4 separate regions of the Homo sapiens genome follow, and regions 2, 3 and 4 are each linked to region 1. Evidence: promoter capture Hi-C in human tissues and cell types (Jung and others, 2019). All regions are on one chromosome and are shown on one strand. The core of a region is centred on a gene start or on the middle of the fragment in contact, and the rest is flanking DNA. Distances in the headings are between cores, read along the strand shown.

Region 1 (4,610 bases), core at 1,265-3,764:
GGCACGGTGGCTCATGCCTGTAATCCCAGCACTTTGGGAGGCTGAGTTGGGCGGATCACGAGGTCAAGAGATCAAGACCATCCTGGCCAACATGGTGAAACCCCATCTCTACTAAAAACACAAAAATCAGCTGGGTGTGGTGGCATGAGCCTGTAATCCCAGCTACTCGGGAGGCTGAGGCAGGAGAATTGCTTGAACCTGGGAGGCGGAGGTTGCAGTGAGCCGAGATTGCGCCACTTCACTCCAGTCTGGTGACGGCGTGAGACTCCATCTCAAAACAAAAAACAAACAAAAAAGGAACATAGCCAACACAGCATAGATTATCAACCAGCTCACACTGTGGATAACTGAAACCTGCAATGTAGAACATAATCCTAGGAGTAATCCCACCAGAAGAATGAACTTTCTTGGGCTTGTGATTGAGGGCTGTTCCACAGGGTATGGAACTATACTATTTGGCATGCTATGTTTATGAAAAAAGCAGGCTCCAAGTTCAAGAGCAAGTTCTCCTACAGGTGTAGGTGGTTGGAATGTAGATAGTGAACAACTGGCAAGCAGCTTTAAGTGGCGGCTCCTAGATTGAAACTCAGGTCTAACTGTAGTTAAAATCATTGCTTTCTCAAGCATATCCTACTAATGTGAATCTTCCCCAGGTGTTCCATGATTGAGTGAAATTATAGACTGAGACCACAGGTCTTTTGGAATAGCACTTCCCTATACCCTCTCCAGGGCAAGATAAGACTCTAAGAATTAGTGGTAGGCCATGTGCAGTGGCTCACACCTGCAATCCCAGCACTCTGGGAGGCCGAGGTGGTTGGATCACTTGAGGTCAGGAGTTTGAGACCAGCCTGGCCAATATAGTGAAACCCCATCTTTACTAAATAAAAATACAAAAATTAGCCAGGCGTGGTGGACATGCCTGTAGTCCCAGTTACTTGGGAGGCTGAGGCAGAATAATCTCTTGAACCTGGGAGGTAGAGGCTGCAATGAGCCGAGATCACACCACTGCACTCCAGCCTGGGAGACAGAGAAAGACTCCATCTCAAAAAGAAAAAAAAAAAGAATTAATGGTAAACCTAAATGCCCATTAAGAGACAAATGGATAAGGGAAATGTATAGATATACACACAATGAAATATTATTCAGCCTTATAAGAGAAGGGAATCCTGTCATTTGCAGTAGAACCCAGAGAACATTATGCTAAGTGAAATAAGCCAGGCACAAAAGGGAAATTATTGCATTATTTCACTTATAGGTGGGATTTTGTTTTAAAAAAGACTTCAAATGCACAGAGCTAGAGAATGAAACAGTGAATACCACTAGTGGGAAGCAGGGAAGAGGAAAAGGGGTGATATAGGTCAAAGGATACAAAATAGTAGACACGTAGGATACATAAATCTACAACAGGGTCCCTAACCTTTTCGGCACCAGGGACAAGTTTTGTGGAATACAATTTTTCCATGGGCAGTGGGGGTAGGTGGATGGTTTTGGAATGAAACTGTTCCACCTCAGATCATCAGGCATTAGATTCTCATAAGGAGTGGCGCAACCTAGATCCCTCGCATGTGCAGTTCACAATAGGAGGCGGAGCTCAGTCTGTAAAGCTTGCTCACCGGCTGCTCACCTCCTGCTGTGCAGCTTGGTTCCTAACAGGCCACGGACCAGTACCAGTCCATGCTGGGGAGTTTGGGACCCCTGGTCTAGAGAGCAAACGTGCAAAATGAGGACTAAAGTTAATAAAATTGTATCATATTAGGAATTTTTGTTAAATAAGTTGATTTTAGCTGTTCTTGTCATACACACAAAAAAGTAATTACGGGTGAGATGATACATATATTATATTGGCCTCCCTACTGTAACCATTTTTCTGTGTATATGTATCTCATAATATCATGTTGTAAACCTCAAATATACAGAATGAATAAAACAATTAGCTGTCAATTTGGCCTTAATGTTCCATGTTAAAGCCAAATGTCTATGTTTGTAATCAGCTAAATTTTATATTGTGCAGAAGCCCTGAATTTCACGGATGCCCCATATTTCATGGATGCCCCGTTCAGTTCATAAGCTCTTGTTTACATGATTTGTGCATGATCCAAATGTGGAAAGAAAATGAGTGGGCAGCCTATTCTGGGTATCAAGCAAAGAGCACAGGCACAGACCATGTGCAATAAGCAGCCTTAGGCAAAACTGAACCAAGAGTGGTTTCATACAGGTATTCCTCTAAGTCTTTAATTTTTTACTTATTCCTTTCCCCTTTTTAATGTGATAGACACCTAATCACCTTCTGCTGCCTTCCCAACCTCAACTTTGGTGTTCTTTGGCAGATAGTGACTTCGGTGTTCTTTGGCAGATAGCCTACAAATGAAATTTCAAAGGCTAAGCATATAATGTTTGCTCACTTGATGTAAGCAACAGAGAACTAAATCTGAACTTTGGCAAAAGTCTATTAATAATTGACAAATAACAGAACAGTGAGGATGTAGAAAGCAATACATTAAAAAAAAAAAAACAACGAACTCCATCTGGGATAGCAATAACCTGTGAAAATGCTCCCCCGGCTAATTTGTATCAATGATTATGAACAACATGCTAAATCAGTACTTCCAAAGTCTATATATGACTATTACAGGTCTGGGGCAAATGATGAAGAAACTTTGGCTGATAATATTGCAGCATTTTCCAGGTAAGAAAATTTATTTTTTAAAATCATGTTTTAAAATTACACAAAGACCGTACCAAAATAAGATCTCCTAGTTTTACGTTGGTGGTGTGTAATTATTTGTTCAGATTTGTGCTTAGTAGAGAGGGAAAAGTTCTTGGGGCTGTAAGAAATCTTGGGCCTTTAAATTGTTAAAAAATATTCCAAGCCTGTGAATCTTGAGGAACTGACTGCAAAAGCCAAACCTATGTTACTTCACTTGGAAATATGACAACAATTAATTTAACTACATGTAAAAATAGCGATAAATTCGGATGACTTTTCTTTTTCTTAGTATGACAGTAAATGCTTATGTTCATGGTGTAGGAAACAGCATTAAATGCCAGATAACCATCTTATCCGGATGAACCAGACTGGATTGTTGGCTCAAATGTTTTCTTCCTGCTGGCTTTTCGTGTTATCATTCATTTTGATTACTGTTGTCTAAACTTTCACTTTAGATTTCAATTTGTCTATGCAGCATTAATCTTTCAACTTTGCTGTTTCATCTCTCCTTCAAAGCACTTCATCTCTCTTCCCAAATTAGTTTTCCTTTGACTTTCATATTTCAAAGCACAAGATGGTGGGTGACATGGTTTATGTTTTCTGTTTGTAATAAAAACAAGAAATAAAATCATTTCAAAGGGTTTTTTTTTATAGCAGTTACAAAAATGGTTTATTTGCTGGAGCAAGAGAGGAGTGCCTTCACTACACTACACTCAGTCTCATCCATCTAACATTATGGCTGTTAGTAAAGGCAATCGGTATTGTGGGTACTCATTGATGGTGATAAAGACAAAAAGGCAGAAAATATGCAGGGGGAGAGAATTAGCCTTCCTCCCTGATTTCTTCTTTAGTCTACAACAAAATCACTCAAAATCAGTTTTCCATATTTAAATTAGGAGAAATAAAATTATCCTGGCCAAGGTGGTCTCTGGTAGGCAGCACTGATTCACCCACAAATCCATGTAGAAGACTGAAAATGGCAATGGGGTGAAGGATACGGCCTCTCCCCAACCCTTTCAAGCCTTGACTTTGTCTCAGGTTTTGCCTGGAACCCAAATGAGCTCAACAAATGCCAGGGAAGTCATGGGAAGGGAAGTTGACTGAGAGTAGAGGGGCTTAAAATTCTGCATCATTATTTACTATTTTGGACTCATTTAAAAGTTTCTGCTCTTGGAAGATGCCCCTTCTTGGGCCGATATTAACTTTGTCCACCAAAATTTGCCTATGAGTGGTCTCTTGAAAACACTTTAACCCAAATAGGTTATTACAACCAAGGAAATTTCAGACCCTTGACAGATTTATAGAGTTAGTGTCTCAGCATTGCTAGACCTCCAATGCTCAAGTGATTATTTATTTCATTTGTATACAGCTTTCCTTACTTCTTAATTCCCTTTGTCGCATGCTAGCTAATTAACTAGAGCTAATTAGGAGTCTCCATGAGCTACACTGTGTACTACATGCTGAGGACAAAGCAGTGAGCCAGACAAAGTTCCTGTCCCTAGGAACTTACATTCCCCTGGATGCATATCAGCCTCCATAATGCTGTTGGGTTGAATTGATGCAAAATGGGCCCAAAATAGTTGGCCAAGTGGAGGTCTCAGAGAGGATGCAAAGGGGCGCCCCAAAGCAGATGGATCACCTATGCAACCCTTTAAAATGTAGAAACTTTGGGAGACATAGAAGGCTTGGTGACTTCTAAGTTATGAACTGGAAAAGTGCCTCATGCCTTATGTGAATTACATGGTATTCAAGTGAGTATTCCCATCCTATGTGTGTACCGAGTAACTTAGGGATAGGACACAGATAATGAAAATGAATTTGCAGTGTCACCTTTTCCATGAACCTTGATCATTCTCTTTTGTTCAGCTTTAAATTAAAAAAAAAAATCAATCAACTTTCTTTG
Region 2 (4,625 bases), core at 422-2,921, 1.8 Mb after region 1:
TCACATCAGCAGTGAGCCCCCTGCACTGAAGCCCATCCCTCTTGCTGCTTAGTCCCCTTGTTTGGAACTTTTCATTTACACCAATAACAAATCATAACCCCACTTACATAGCATTTTCCAGTTTCAAAACCTTTTTCAAATATATAGTCCAGACAAGAGCTAAGCTGCCTGGGTTTAAATTTCATCTTCGCCACTTCTTTTTAATTTTTTTAATGTTTGCAGCTACATAGTAGGTCCATATATTTATGGGGTACATGAGATGTTTTGATAAAGGCATGCAATGTATAATAATTACATCATAGATAATGGAGTATCTGTCCCCTCAAGCATTTATCTTTTGTATTACAAACAATTCAATTATACCCTTTTAGTTATTTTTAAATGTACAATTAAATTATTATTGGCTATAGCCAGCCTGACACTTCTTAGCTATACAACGTTGAGCTGGTTACTTGGCTTCTCTGTGCCTGCACTGCCTCATTTGTAAAATGGGGATAATTGTGACTCCTGATTCATGGGGCTGCCACTGTGTTTGGTTAGTTAATATGTGTTACAATCTTTGAACAGTTCCCAGCTCATGGTAAGGTCTATGCAAATGCCACTATTACTATAACTATCAGTATTGTTATTATTTTATCCCCAAAATAAGCCCTCAATATCAGCATTATTTTTATCCTCATTCCTATTTTGTCGATGAGCAGACTAAAAATGATGGTGTGACAAACTCATATAGTGAACAATATCACTGAGATAATTTCAAGTCATCTGAGTCTATATTCCTAACAACAATCTTCCCCAAGCTGTAATATGTAGACTCTTATTATGCTGTCTTGTGTTATTTTATTATTTTATTGCTATACCAATTTAAATGTGTATGTCCTCTTGTTAGCTAAATTATAATCTCCTTAACACTAGGAACTCTGATAAACACATCTTTAACTTGGAGCCAACCCAAATGCCTGTGAATGACAGGCTGGATAAAGAAAATATGGCACATGTACACCATGGAATACTATGCAGCCATAAAAAAGAGTTCATGTCCTTTGCAGGGACATGGATGAAGCTGGAAGCTATCATTCTCAGCAAACTAACAAGGAACAGAAAACCAAACACCCCATGTTCTCACTCATAAATGGAAGTTGAAGAATGAGAACACATGGACACAGGGAGGGGGACATCACACACCGGGGCCTGCTGGGGGCTGGGGGACAAAGGGAGGGAGAGCATTAAGACAAATACCTAATGCATGTGGGGCTCAAAGCCTCGATGATGGATTGGTGGGTGCAGCAAACCACCATGGCACATGTATACCTATGTAACAAACCTGCACATTCTGTACGTGTATCCCAGAACTTAAAGTAAAATTTAAAAAAAAAAAATCTTTAAAATTCCTTAGCAAGTACCATGATAACACTAGAGAGTAAACAGATACCCACTGACTGGTAATATTTAATAGGATAGAAATATGTGTACATTAATCCTTTAAATAGAGCAGTTTACAAAACAATAAAAACATGACACTCCATTATTGCCAAAAATACTTTTCTATGTATGTTTGTCTACATGTAGACAGGAAAAAATAACTGAAAGAACTTATATCAAAATATTAGCAAGGTTATCATTTCTGGGTAGGGAGCAATGGATAACTTGTTTCTGCATGTCAGGGACTTTAATTAAGAGGCTTCCAAAGACTCAACAACTGGGAAGTGTGGGGTGTGAGGTTTCTTTGACCTCCACCCTCCCCAGTGCTACCTGAGGGCTGTCTGGGTCCCAGCAATCACCTTACCTGGGAAGACTGAGGGAATCTTCTTGAAGCTAGAGTCTGTATTTGTTCATAACCTCCACATATGCCCACCTGCCCCAGTGTCTCTCGGTTGAGTCCTAAGCTGCTGGACTGAACGCCCCACCTTCCAGACATGTCATAAAACTGCCTTTTGTTTCCCTTTGGTGTCTTCTCAGTAAAGGACGGTCAGAGGGCCATAGAAACAGCTTAGGGTTCCTTTGGGAGCTCTCCCAAAAAGTGAGTAGAAGAATACAGGTGGTCCCCTGAGGAGAGGGGAATGGGTTTCCACACAGGGCTCTCTCATTGGGCATTCTTAATCTTCCACCACCAACACACCAGTTTTTTGTTTGTTTGTTTGTCTTGAGACAGGGTCTCACTCTGTCTCCCAGGCTAGAGTGCAATGGTGCCATCACAGCTCACTGCAGCCTTGTCCTCCCTGGACCAAGCGATCCTCCTGCCTCAGCCTCCCAGATAGCTGGGACTACAGGGGTGCACCACTGTGCCAGGCTAATTTTTTTTATTTTTTGTAGAGATGGAGGTCTCACTACATCACTTAAGCTGGTCTTGAATTCCTGGGCTCAACTGATCCTCCCAACGCAGCCTCCCAAAGCGCTGGGATTACAGGCATAAGCCACTACACCCAGCCAACATGCATCTTATAATACAAGAAAATACATTTTAAAAGCAAATACTTATTTAATATTTGCTTTAAAACGTTGTCAGGCAGGTTGTAGGTGCTCATTTGTAGATAGTTAGAAAATATCCTCCGAATTGTTTGACTGTCTCCATCCTGCCAAGCTTAGAGGTGTTGAGAATATTCTTTTCCTAGTATTTGTTTCCTATATACTAGTATTTCTTATATCTTTTCCTGGTATTTGTACGTATTTCTTTGGGAGTCCTTAAAATTCAATCAACTCTAAATTATCAATTCTGGATCCTTCAGTCTACAAAACCTCTCTGTTTCCTGGGATGATTTTCTGCCTCTGCTAGAACAGCTCCAAGAATCTGCAAAAATAGTACTTAAGGTCTCAATTTCTTTTTTTTTTTTTTTGAGACCAAGTCTCACTCTGTCGCCCAGGCTGAAGTGCAGTGGTGCAAACTCAGCTCACTGCAGCCTCCACCTCTGGCTTGAATTTTCCCAGGAGTGAGAAGTCTCCTGGGAGAATTCAAGCGATTCTCCTGCCTCAACCTCCCGAGTAGCTGGGACTACAGGCACTCTCCACTATGCCCGCTAATTTTTGTATTTTTTTAGTAGAGTCTGGGTTTCACCATGTTGGCCAGGCTGGTCTCAAACTCCTGACTTCAAGTGATCCTCCTGCCTTGGCCTCCCAAAGTGCTGGGATTACAGGCATGAACCACTGCGCCTGGTCCTTAACTTCTTTTTAAAAATGATTTTCCTTAAACATTTCAATGAGTCAAAACTCAGAAAATGACAGAGTGATTCTGCCCTCTTTATCATTTAGCAAAAATTTGTTTTGTGCCTACTGGGTAACGGGCTCTGAGGATAAAGTGAGGAATTGAAACATACACTCTTCGTGCCCTCCAGGATTTTAGAATCTAGTGGACATAAATCCCACTCATCTCCGGAAGTGATGTTCTTTTTCTCCAACCCAGTTATCTTTCTATGCTAAGTGCTTTGTACATTTTCCAAAATCAATGCTTTCAAGCACAACAAACAGAGAGGGATTTCAGGAAAAAGGACATTAGGAGAGAGGGAGAAGAAGCCTCACATTTTATCTTCCTAAGTATTGGTTTAATGTCTGCTTTCACACATGTATGGCAAAGTTCATGAGGGCAGTCTGTCATTTTATCCCCACTTTTATCCATCACTTTTATCTCCAGCACCTAAAAAGTGTTTGGCACTTAGAAGACACTCAGCAAATATTGATTGATTGAACAAATCAGCGAATGAGCCTAGGAATATTGCTAGGCAGGCCAGAGGTGTTCATTTGTGGATAGTTAGGTAGATGAACAGGTAATACAACAGATAAGTGGATAAACGCAGAGATGGGTGAATTGTGAATGGGAGAGTAGAAGGGTAAATAGGGCAATGGGTGGGTGAATGGGTAGGTGAGTTAGATGGATGGTTGGGTTGATGTGTGTCGAGGGGGTGATTCTACAAATGGAAAGACTCAGTATAGTGATCTGGATCCTTGTGATAATGTTCATTTTGTAAATAAATTTTAATTTTTTCCAGTGAAAGAAATCACAGAAGCACCACCATGGTTTGGACGTGTTTATGGCATAGTCCCTGGCACACAGGAGGTATGGAATAAATGTTTTCTGGATGAATGGGTGAATGAGAGCAAATGAATAAATGAATGAAGAATTAGCTGAATCATGAGACTTCTTTCTCTGTGTTTCTTCTTTAATCCATTTTTCTTAACTATGAATAAGATTAAGGAGGAGAGAAGGGAATAATTAAGGCAGTTGTGTCCTCAATAGTAGATTATCATAGAAACCACCAACCAGCTGCACCCTCATGATTAATTGCAGTGCTGTCCACAATACCTAAGACATGGAATCAACCTGGGTATCTAACAACAGATGAATGGGTTTTTAAAAACGTGGTATGTATACACAATGGAGTACTATTCAGCCACAAAAAAAAAAAAAAAATGAAATCCTCTCATTCATAGCAACATGGATAGAACTGGAGGATATAATGTTAAGTGGAAATAAGCCAGGCACAGAACAGAGGATACTAGAAGCTGGGAAGGGGAAGGAAAGGATAGGGAGAGATTTGTTGGAGAATACAAAATTACAGCTAGTTATTCGGTTGGTGCCAAAGTAATTGTGGTTTTTGTTATTAAAAGTAATGGCAAAATGAGCAATTACTTTT
Region 3 (4,770 bases), core at 1,407-3,906, 1.1 Mb after region 1:
ATTTAACCCCTCTGTGCCTCAGTTTTTCGGTCTGTAAAGTGTGGATAAGAAGACCTTCTAGTTCAAATATCAAGTGTCTTAGGCCTGCAAACGAACAACTTTTTAGTAAACTTTTAGAGCAGCCTTCTAAAGCAATCAGGGAGGAGAGGGAAAGATACACAAAACAAGCCAGTTGGATTTTGCCAAAATCAGTTCCTTGTCCCTGTCAACCACCTGGCTTCATGGTCATTCCATGTCCCCTGTTTTCCCAAGGACATAATCAGGGATATAGCTACTTTGTGCCTCACTGCCCCTGGCTGTGGGCTTCCCTGGGGAGATCAAGATAGGCTTTATAAGTCCTTTGCCCCGTCATGAAACAGTACCCTGACTACACACTCAGCCTGGTCTGGTATGAGCACCCACTTCCAGTCTAGACGGCAGCCTAAGAGAGGGGCTAATGCTAGGTTGCACCAGACTGAGCCTCATACTTGTCATGGCTCTGCCCACGGTGATTCCTTTGATCTTGATCCTAGCAAACCACAGTCATCGACAAAGGTAGAATGGATTTCTGCTTCTGAAAAGCTTTGATGGAAACTCCCTTGATTTCCCATTCCCTCCCCAGCCCTTCTGCTCCTTTAGATTTACCTCCAACATTTAGTCCTAAATCCAGCTGTAAATCCAGCCTGAGAGAGCCCATCAAACCGGCATGATTCATGTGCCATCCTGTTTGGATATCTGGGGCCATAGCTGACCCACTTGGGAAAGTACACGGTCATTTTTACTTCGCCAGGCATCCTAATCACAGATTCCAGGCTCAGTATTCTTTGTTTAATTTTCTCTGAGAATTGGCTGGACTGTGATCTGATCCTCAGAGAAAGGCAATCATTTCTAAAGGGTAGATTTTTAGAAAAGTTTGCAATTACAAACAACGAAAAATATATGCAGGCTTTCTGCGGTTATGCTGAAGGAATGTGCAGGACATCCATGCCCCTGTCATCTCAAGGCTCTCTTCTAAAATCAGGACCTGTTTCCAGGGCTCTTTGCAGCAGTGTTTCCCTTTCATTTCTTGTGTGAAGAAAGGAAGTAACTTGAGAAAGCAACTTTTAAGAAACTTGAAACACGTTTACTTGTTTCCCAGGCTTCAGGTTAGGGCTGATGGCTCCACAAAGTAAGTGCAGCCAGATTCATGAAACTCGTAACGTTTTGGAGGTGATGTCTAACTGACCGTCTCATTCTACAAATGAGAGCACTAAAACCTTGGAAAAGCTAAAGCTTGCTGGAGGCCTAAGTGATTTCACAAACAGAGCTTGTCTGGAACTTAGTACTTTTAATTCCTAAGCCAGTGCCTATGCCCTAAGCCAATAGGTAATCCAGTGGGCAGTGGTCCCCAAGGCAGGCCAGGCCTGAGCTACTGATAACCCTCTTTATCCCAGTCCTGTGAAACATCAATTTCAGTTAATGCCAATAGCTTCAGGGGCAGTTTTTCAAAGCCCTCTCTCCAGGACATCAGCCTGGATGCAGAGCACAGAGAAATAAAATAATTTACATAGTTTACTAACTCTAAAACTCAGAACTGAGAAGAGAAAGGGCCAGTTTTTCCATATGCAGACTTCAACCTTCTCAAGACCCAAATGACAGGTAAAAATACACATTCGAATGTCTCTCCTTGCACACACACCGTCAAGACCACTTTGCCTTCCCTCTTTCCCAAAGCGAAAGAATGGATATGCTGGGAGTGTTTGGTAGCCTGCTATCAGAAGAAAATAGAGACATCATCATTTTCCCTTTTTGACATTTTTTTTTCCTGCCAGTAAAAGAGAGAGAAACTTGCTTAGGGATCAAAATATTAGCTGGAGAAAGAATTTACAGGGGTGCTGGCAGCTGGTTGGCTGTAGAGGGAGAAAGCCTGTGGGGTGTGGACCGCCAGTCTCGGAAAAGCGCACTGCAGAGCAGGGTGCAGGAGAACCCAGCAAAGCAGGATTTGACAGGTGCCTGGCTCAGGCTCCCACTGGCCAGGCAATCGTCAGCTCTGTTCTGCTTGGCTCTCTTAAACAACAAGTTAAGAGCCAGCTGCTTTCTGCGCTTGGCTCTGAAATCAGCAGGTCTCTCTGCTCTGTTCAGCGGAGGCATCCCCAGCAGGGAGTTAGTCAGGGTACTGGCTAGAGCCTTCATGCCTCAGAGTAAAGGCTTATGAAGGAGGTAATTACGCAGCTGGAAATGGGCAGGCCCTTAGGGCAAAAGAGAAAGAAAGGAAGGTGATCTTCTCACTTACTTAATGCTTAAAAGAAAAAAAATACCCTATGCCTGTCAAAGAGAAGCATCCTAGTATTAGTGGTGCTATGATCAGAGATCCCCTCTCCCTTACCCATTGTGTGGTTACTAAATCAACACAGGAAGCCTGTCCACAAGACTTCAATGTCAACATTGCCCGCCCCTACCTGACCACCAATTTTGCATTGATTAGCTTCCATGATTCCCTGTCAGGCAATTTAGTTGTTTAGTTGCTGGTTAGTTGTTTCTATTTTCCTGAGCATTCTTCTCAAACCTGTTCCCAATGTTTATACTCTGGAGCTACTGACCACCCTTTCCTTTCCCGAACTCTTCCACTGTCATCAATTCCTCGAGAGGTCAACATTACTGCGGGCAGAAGGAAAGATGGCTGACCCTGGCCCTGGACTTCCTTCCCTCTGACACACTGAATACCCTTCGTCAAAAAACCATAATCCAAACTGCAATGTTGGTGCCTATAAGAGAGCTAGTCCCGCTCTCCTCAGAGAGCCCAGCTTGGAGATTTCTGATGTTGAAGTTACCTGCCAATTAGAATGGCCACATTGCAAAATCCACGTGTATTTTACACAGAACAGCCACTTCAGATCTTCATTCACTCAAGGGCCTGCAGTTGTATCTGTTAAAGGTGTCACAATAAATGAACTCATTAAAGTACCACTCGTTTTTTTGATTTCTTGCAAGGTTAGCAATTAGAAATTTTTTTCCTTAGCTTCAGAAAACGTTCTTTAAACAAAAGCTTGCTTGGAAGAGATAAACTGGCAACTGCTCTGGTTGAGGAAGAAGTAGTGGGGTATTCTGTGCTCTGGCCCTTAGTCCCGTGAAGCATGATTTAGGAAACTAATTTGTCCTAGTGTCTCCCTTTTTTTTTTTTTTTTTTTTTTTTTTTTGAGACGGAGTCTCGCTCTGTCGCCCAGGCTGGAGTGCAGTGGCGCAATCTCTGCTCACTGCAAACTCCGCCTCCTGGGTTCACGCCATTCTCCTGCCTCAGCCTCCCGAGTAGCTGGGACTACAGGCACCCGCCACTACGCCCAGCTAATTTTTTGTATTTTTGGTAGAGATGGGGTTTCACCATATTGGCCAGGATGGTCTCCATCTCCTGACCTCATGATCTGCCCGCCTCGGCCTCCCAAAGTGTTGGGATTACAGGCGTGAGCCACCGCGCCCGACCTAGTGTCTCCCATATTTGAACACTTCTTCCTTTCATGCTTGCCTCTTTGGAATATTCGTTTATTTCATAAAACTTAAGGCTATTTTGACATCTTTTAAAATTGCATCAAACAACTTTACTTTCTCCTCAAGTTATGTTATGATTGTCTGTTGTTACTCAATGCAAAATAGTCATTTCCCATCAAGTTTCTTTTGTTTCCACTCAATGTTTTCTCTCCAACTCACCAGCATTTCCTAGCTGCCATTCTTTCTCTTCCCAATTTGACACTCTTTTCATCCAGCTTGGTCTGGCTTCCAAATCACCCTTTCTTAGTACTTTCATCCTACAACAACATTTAATTTAGTATTTTGTGGTTGAAATGATCCAGAGAGGATCAGAGAATTGGAGTGACTTGCCTAAGATCACACCACTAATATGGCAGAGTAAAGACAGAACTCAAGCTTTTCAACAGCTTGGCTCCCCTTTCTTCCTCTTTTGTTCCTCTACTGGCTCTTTAGTTCTCACTCTGGTCCACATGTGTATAGACCCAGTCAATAGTTTCTATGGATATCCTGACTGCCCCTATAAAATAAGTGGGTTGCATTAGCAATTTCCAATGTCATCTTTCAGCTTCATCTTTCTATGAGGAATGGGAGTGGTTAAGATCATTGACACTGATCAAACCATTCAGGCTTTATTCTAGTAGAGGTAAAACTCTTTTGACAATTCTTAAGTATACAGGTAACTTTCTATTAAACGGTTTCCTCTTGCACATACTTTGGTCTCCAGCCCTAGCCAAAACCCAGGCATGCAGAACTGGCAAACTGCTTGGAGGAAGACCTTCCAAAGATCTCAGAAATTTCAAGAAAGGCTTTTGTGGTATTTCTGGCCCAGCCAGAATCAGGAAGTACCTGATCACTCACAAGGAAACTAGTTTTTGCACAATTTCCAACATCTCCCCCCACAACCCCCACTTCATCCTAAAGCCTTTCTTGAGCCACACATTCCTGCCCCTTCCCCAAACACAGGTTTCTGCAGAGTCAAAACTTTTGATAGTTCAGATAAGGTTCAAATGAGCTGCTGAACTCTTGGAGGCTGGAAGTGAACCTAGCATTTTGTTCCTTGCTCATCCCCGGTAATGAGTATACCAGGCTGGCTATGTCAAGGTGGTTTGGGTCACATAGTGAAAATCAACATAATTGAAAGCATTAATCAACAAACAATTACATGTAATGGTACAGAATGACTACTTATGAGGCCTTACATGATTCTGACCAAATCTGCCTATGGTAATAACAGGAGGCACACAACTGTACCAGAGGGTTTTTGTTTTGTTTTGTTTTTTCAAGAAATAA
Region 4 (4,494 bases), core at 732-3,231, 1.1 Mb after region 1:
ATCATATCCTACTGTGATTTCTTTAAATAGATAGTGGATATATATTCTCACATTTAGCTGAGGTCCTATCCATGGACACAGTCTTTTAAATTGCAGAGTTTAAATTAAACATAGATAATTGGTTTTTAATTCAAAAGATAATTAAATACTGAGCAGGCTATGTTAAATAAGGTTATAACATTTCAGGCTGGGCTCTTTTAAAGTAAAACAAAAAGCATCAGACATAGGAGACAACCAACCAGTAGTTGATTTCACCCCTAGAGATGCTTTCACCTCTGTATATTTAGTCTGCAACTCAAAACTCATATCTGGATGTAGCTATTAACAGTTTCAGTATTGTGTTTTTCTAATGTTAAGCAGAAAATATGTATGCATACATTATAAGTAGTAACATAAATATTTTCATATTAAAGGTATTGTGTATATACGCCCCAACTAGGAGTAAACACTCATCTGTAGAAGAAACTTAGCAAGGTAACCTCCTCTCCCTCACTTTGTTTTCAAGTGAAGAAGCTAAAATAAAGACATTTTGCACAAAAAGGCATAAGTAAAGCTAGGTATCATGACTACCGTTTTCCCAGTTTGCAGTACTTATTCCATTAGACTCTCTCTATCCAGCATGTAGTCTGCAGACCGACAGCAGCAACATGTCTTGGGGACTTGTTGAAAACATGTAATCTGAGGTCCTATCTCAAACCTACCAAATCCATATTTAAAAAAATTCACCAGGGGATTCATAGGCTGATTGGAGTTTGAGAAGCACTGCTTTATGCTCCACACAATCTAACTGAATTACTACATTTTCCTAGAAGTTGGAGAATAATGCAATCAAAATGTCTCAACTCTCTGAATAGAAATATTACAGAAATTCAAGTTAATGCCAGAAATATACATTTGCATCAAATTTAACTCAGGTGCTGACTTTAAAACGTTACCCTCCATCCAATGAGACTCCACAAATTCTCTTAATCCTCATGAACAAGCAATCAATTAACATAAATTAACATTTGAATGCTTACTATTTTAAAAAGTAAGTAAACCCCAGAAAGATAAGAAGACACAATTAGCCTCACCCACCCGTTCCCTTTTCACCCCTAGGAAAATGCTAGGACACAGATGGTTTCCCGGTGTCTGCATGAAGGTTAATTCTTTGATTCCTTCTTTTGGTCTGGTGTAAGTGTTCTTTAAGCTTTTGTGAAGATCATTGTTATATTAAATACACACCCACACATATTCTTTAGAAATGACGTAAGAGATTTTTCAATGGCCATTTTTTACCATTCTCTATTTTTACTCTAAAAATACACTTGAGAATGTATCCCCACGTAAGCTGCTTACATTTTTTAAAAATGGTCTAAATACTTGTTGGGTTCACTAGTACTTTCTTCTGACACGTTTTGCAGATTGATTTGTGTCAGAGAGCCATAGTTTAGAAACATTGACTCAATAATGAGTCCCTATCATCGATGGCACTAAAAGGGTACAAACTAATCATATAACTCAATGCAGTAGGCAAGTGAGTATGAATGTTTAAACAGTTATTATCAGGGTTGGAGAGGAGGTGGGGATGTTGAAGAAGAAAGAATAAAAAAGTGGTGTGAGAAAGCGAAGTATTACTGGAATGTTGAGACTGCAAATGAAACCCACAGAAGTCAGGAAATTCAAGAGTTAAGGCTCCCGTTGCTCCCTTAATTCAGCCCCTGTTGTTGGGCATACACATTGTGTTTGTATCTTTTATTACCAGATCCCATAACACTTAGCAACACAGCCCACTTAGGACGGTGATGAAGCAGCATATGGCTCCTTATGAAATGAGCTTTAAATATATCCAAAGGTTAACAACTAGTATAACAAGGTACTTTTTCCTATAAAAGTTTAATGTTAATTATAAAATCGGATAACATTGTTATGGTGTGAAATATGTAATACACAAGGCAACACTCCCCTGGGGCATAGTTGGTGTGCGCTGTGTTCACAGTGGAATTCTCCCAGCTTTAGCGTATAAAAGTGAAAATAATTCTTTCTCCCTGGGAAATAGATGAAAATTAGTTAATGTAGCAAAACTTCAGAATCTTTACTTTGCTGGCCTGGCACGGTGGCTCACGTCTGTAATCCTAACACTTTGGGACGCCAAGGTGGGCAGATCACTTGAGCCCAAGAGTTCAAGATCAGCCTGGGCAACAAGGGGAAACCTGTCTCTACTAAAAAATACAAAAATTAGCCAGGCATGGTGGCAGGAGTCTGTAACCCCAGCTACTTGGGAGGCTGAGGCAGGAGAATCACTTGAACCCGGGAGGTGGAGGTTGCAGTGAGCCAAGATCGTGTCAGTGCACTTTAGCCTGGGTGACAGAGTGAGGCTCCATCTCAAAAAAATAAATAAATAAAAAATAAAAATAAATGAAATTAAAAAAAGAATATCTGCTTTATATAAAAATAATAAATTTCAGAGGCTGTCAACTACAGCTAAATAGCCATATATTAGCAAACCAATGAGGGGCAGGAGATGCAGCATTAACAAATGATTTCGTCCCCCCCACCAAAGACAACATTTCTGACTGATTTTGGAAAGCTGTGTATAGTATTATCTCCCTTCATATTTATCATCCTAATGATGTTTCTTCTTGTCAAGAAAATACCTCCCTGAACAAATTCCAGGTAGAAAACATCAGCCCAAGAGTGTGTCCATTTGGAGGGTAAAAACAAAGCATGGTAGGAAAAACATTACAAAAATCATCTGTAAAATGTGGTTACTAAGTCATTGCTAAAGCTCTTGGCTGGCTGAAGTTTGAAGACTAAATTAACCCTTCCAGGAGTGTCTACATAATTTGTGGAGACCAATGCAAAATGAAAATACGGGACAATTGTTAAAAAATTGTTAAGAATTTCAAGACAATGACACTGGAGCAGGAAAGCAAACAGGAGCATTTCTAAGCACAGGGCCCTGTGGGATGCAAAGTCACAGTTGGATTATTTGATTAAGCCAACTTCTCTCCTCTGCCTTGCTTCTGGCAATCATTACTTCTGTTATTCTTATTCATTGTGTTTCATCCTTAATTGTCCAACTAGCCTGTAAACTTTTGTGGGTGGAGACCCTGGAAAGAACATGGACTCTGCAACCAGATGAGTCTTTCTTAGATTCCCAGCCTCTCTCACTTCTTATTTTAATCACACTACTTAATTTCTCCTAGACTTAGTTCTTTCACCTGTAAAACAAGAATAATGTAGTACCTTCAGGATAGAAGTGCTATGCAGATAAAGTAATTCACAGTGCTTGGCCCATTCTAAGTACTCAAAAATAGTAGCTATTCTTATTATCTCATCTTAAGGTTGTTGTGAGAATAACAGGAAGACATTGGAAAGAACTTAAGTGTCCGACAATATGAGATTAGATAAAAACAGGGTAAGTTCAAACAATGGCATATTATAACTGCCGAGGTGGATCTCTAAGTCGGCTTGAAGCAATCAATGACAGCACTACCTAAAGATAGTACACCACCCCGCAGCACAGCAGCACCTGAGAGCTACTCAGGAATGCAAATTCGGAGACCCCACCCCAGACCTACTAAATCAGGAGCTCTGTGGATCATCTGAAGTGCACGGAGTCCTCCAGGGAATTCAATGTGCTCTCAAGTTTAAGAACCATTGCTCTACTACATGAGTTGGGTCTGTGAACAGATAAAAAACATCTATGAGGGGAGAGGAGGAAAACGAAAAAAGTAAAAAAAAAGAACGCCTTCTAAGCTATATTTTTATTAAATTACAAAAGCAAGGTACAGAGGAGTTCCCTAATAGATTTCAAGCCTAGAGATTTTCCTAAATTGAGGCTTATTTCTCCATCCAGGCAGACATTAATGACGGTGCTCCTTAGGCCAGTGTTGGAGAAATCATGGTGACTCCTAAGACTTTTTATCCATTTTGCCTTTGGAAAGAGAGAAAGAGATAGAAATTTTCCTTTTTTCTTTTTTTACTTTCTGTACTGTTGGAAGTTTTTTAACCACACGCATACATATATATATACTCTATAAACACATATTACTCTTTTCATGTGGTTTTTAAAAAATATTTTTGAATACGTTATTTCTGAATATTGTATTCAATAACATCATATTAAGTAATATCTTATTTTTCAATGAATATTTTAAAGTAAGCACACCCAATCTAACTGTGGAAAAAAGCACGGCTCTGGTTAATCAGAATGAGGCCAGTATAAAAGGCATTTGAAAGTCAGGCAGAATCGTGAAGGCTGTTCTTCTAGAAGCAGAGAACAACCACAATCTGTGGATTTACAACCAATGGAGCTGAGCAAACCCTTTTTGCCTGGGGAAATCCTGACAGCAGGGCCTCTAATTTCATGAAATAAGCCAGGTTGACCTCGAAAACTGTTGGCAAGGAAATGACACAGGAGTGAGGGCACTTCACACAATTCTCTCCTTGGGTTTTCATTCTTTTAGGGTTGGTTTCCATGGAAATCTACACCTGCCAGTTCCCTGGGGT

The links. The method cuts DNA at HindIII sites, captures the fragments that hold promoters and counts their contacts. A contact is called where the count stands out against the background at its distance.
Region 2: a contact is called between a fragment that was not itself captured here and the fragment with the promoter of HAO1 in region 1, in 1 of the 25 tissues and cell types used here (lymphoblastoid cells).
Region 3: a contact is called between a fragment that was not itself captured here and the fragment with the promoter of HAO1 in region 1, in 1 of the 25 tissues and cell types used here (dorsolateral prefrontal cortex).
Region 4: a fragment that was not itself captured here is called in contact with the fragment with the promoter of HAO1 in region 1 in 1 of the 25 tissues and cell types used here (dorsolateral prefrontal cortex).

What each region holds. Positions count from the first base shown.
Region 1 is chr20:7,938,362-7,942,971 of GRCh38, reverse strand. It overlaps HAO1 (hydroxyacid oxidase 1), which reads left to right and starts at 2,514. Exons shown (of 8, transcript NM_017545.3): 1 at 2,514-2,686. The coding sequence starts at 2,550. The HindIII fragment of the contact is 11,188 bases long and covers 1-4,610 here.
Region 2 is chr20:6,136,238-6,140,862 of GRCh38, reverse strand. No RefSeq gene overlaps it. Among named protein-coding and RNA genes, the nearest start is that of FERMT1, 16 kb to the right of the region's middle. The HindIII fragment of the contact is 8,301 bases long and covers 1-4,625 here.
Region 3 is chr20:6,883,845-6,888,614 of GRCh38, reverse strand. No RefSeq gene overlaps it. Among named protein-coding and RNA genes, the nearest start is that of BMP2, 120 kb to the right of the region's middle. The HindIII fragment of the contact is 3,499 bases long and covers 907-4,405 here.
Region 4 is chr20:6,811,734-6,816,227 of GRCh38, reverse strand. No RefSeq gene overlaps it. Among named protein-coding and RNA genes, the nearest start is that of BMP2, 46 kb to the right of the region's middle. The HindIII fragment of the contact is 3,349 bases long and covers 307-3,655 here.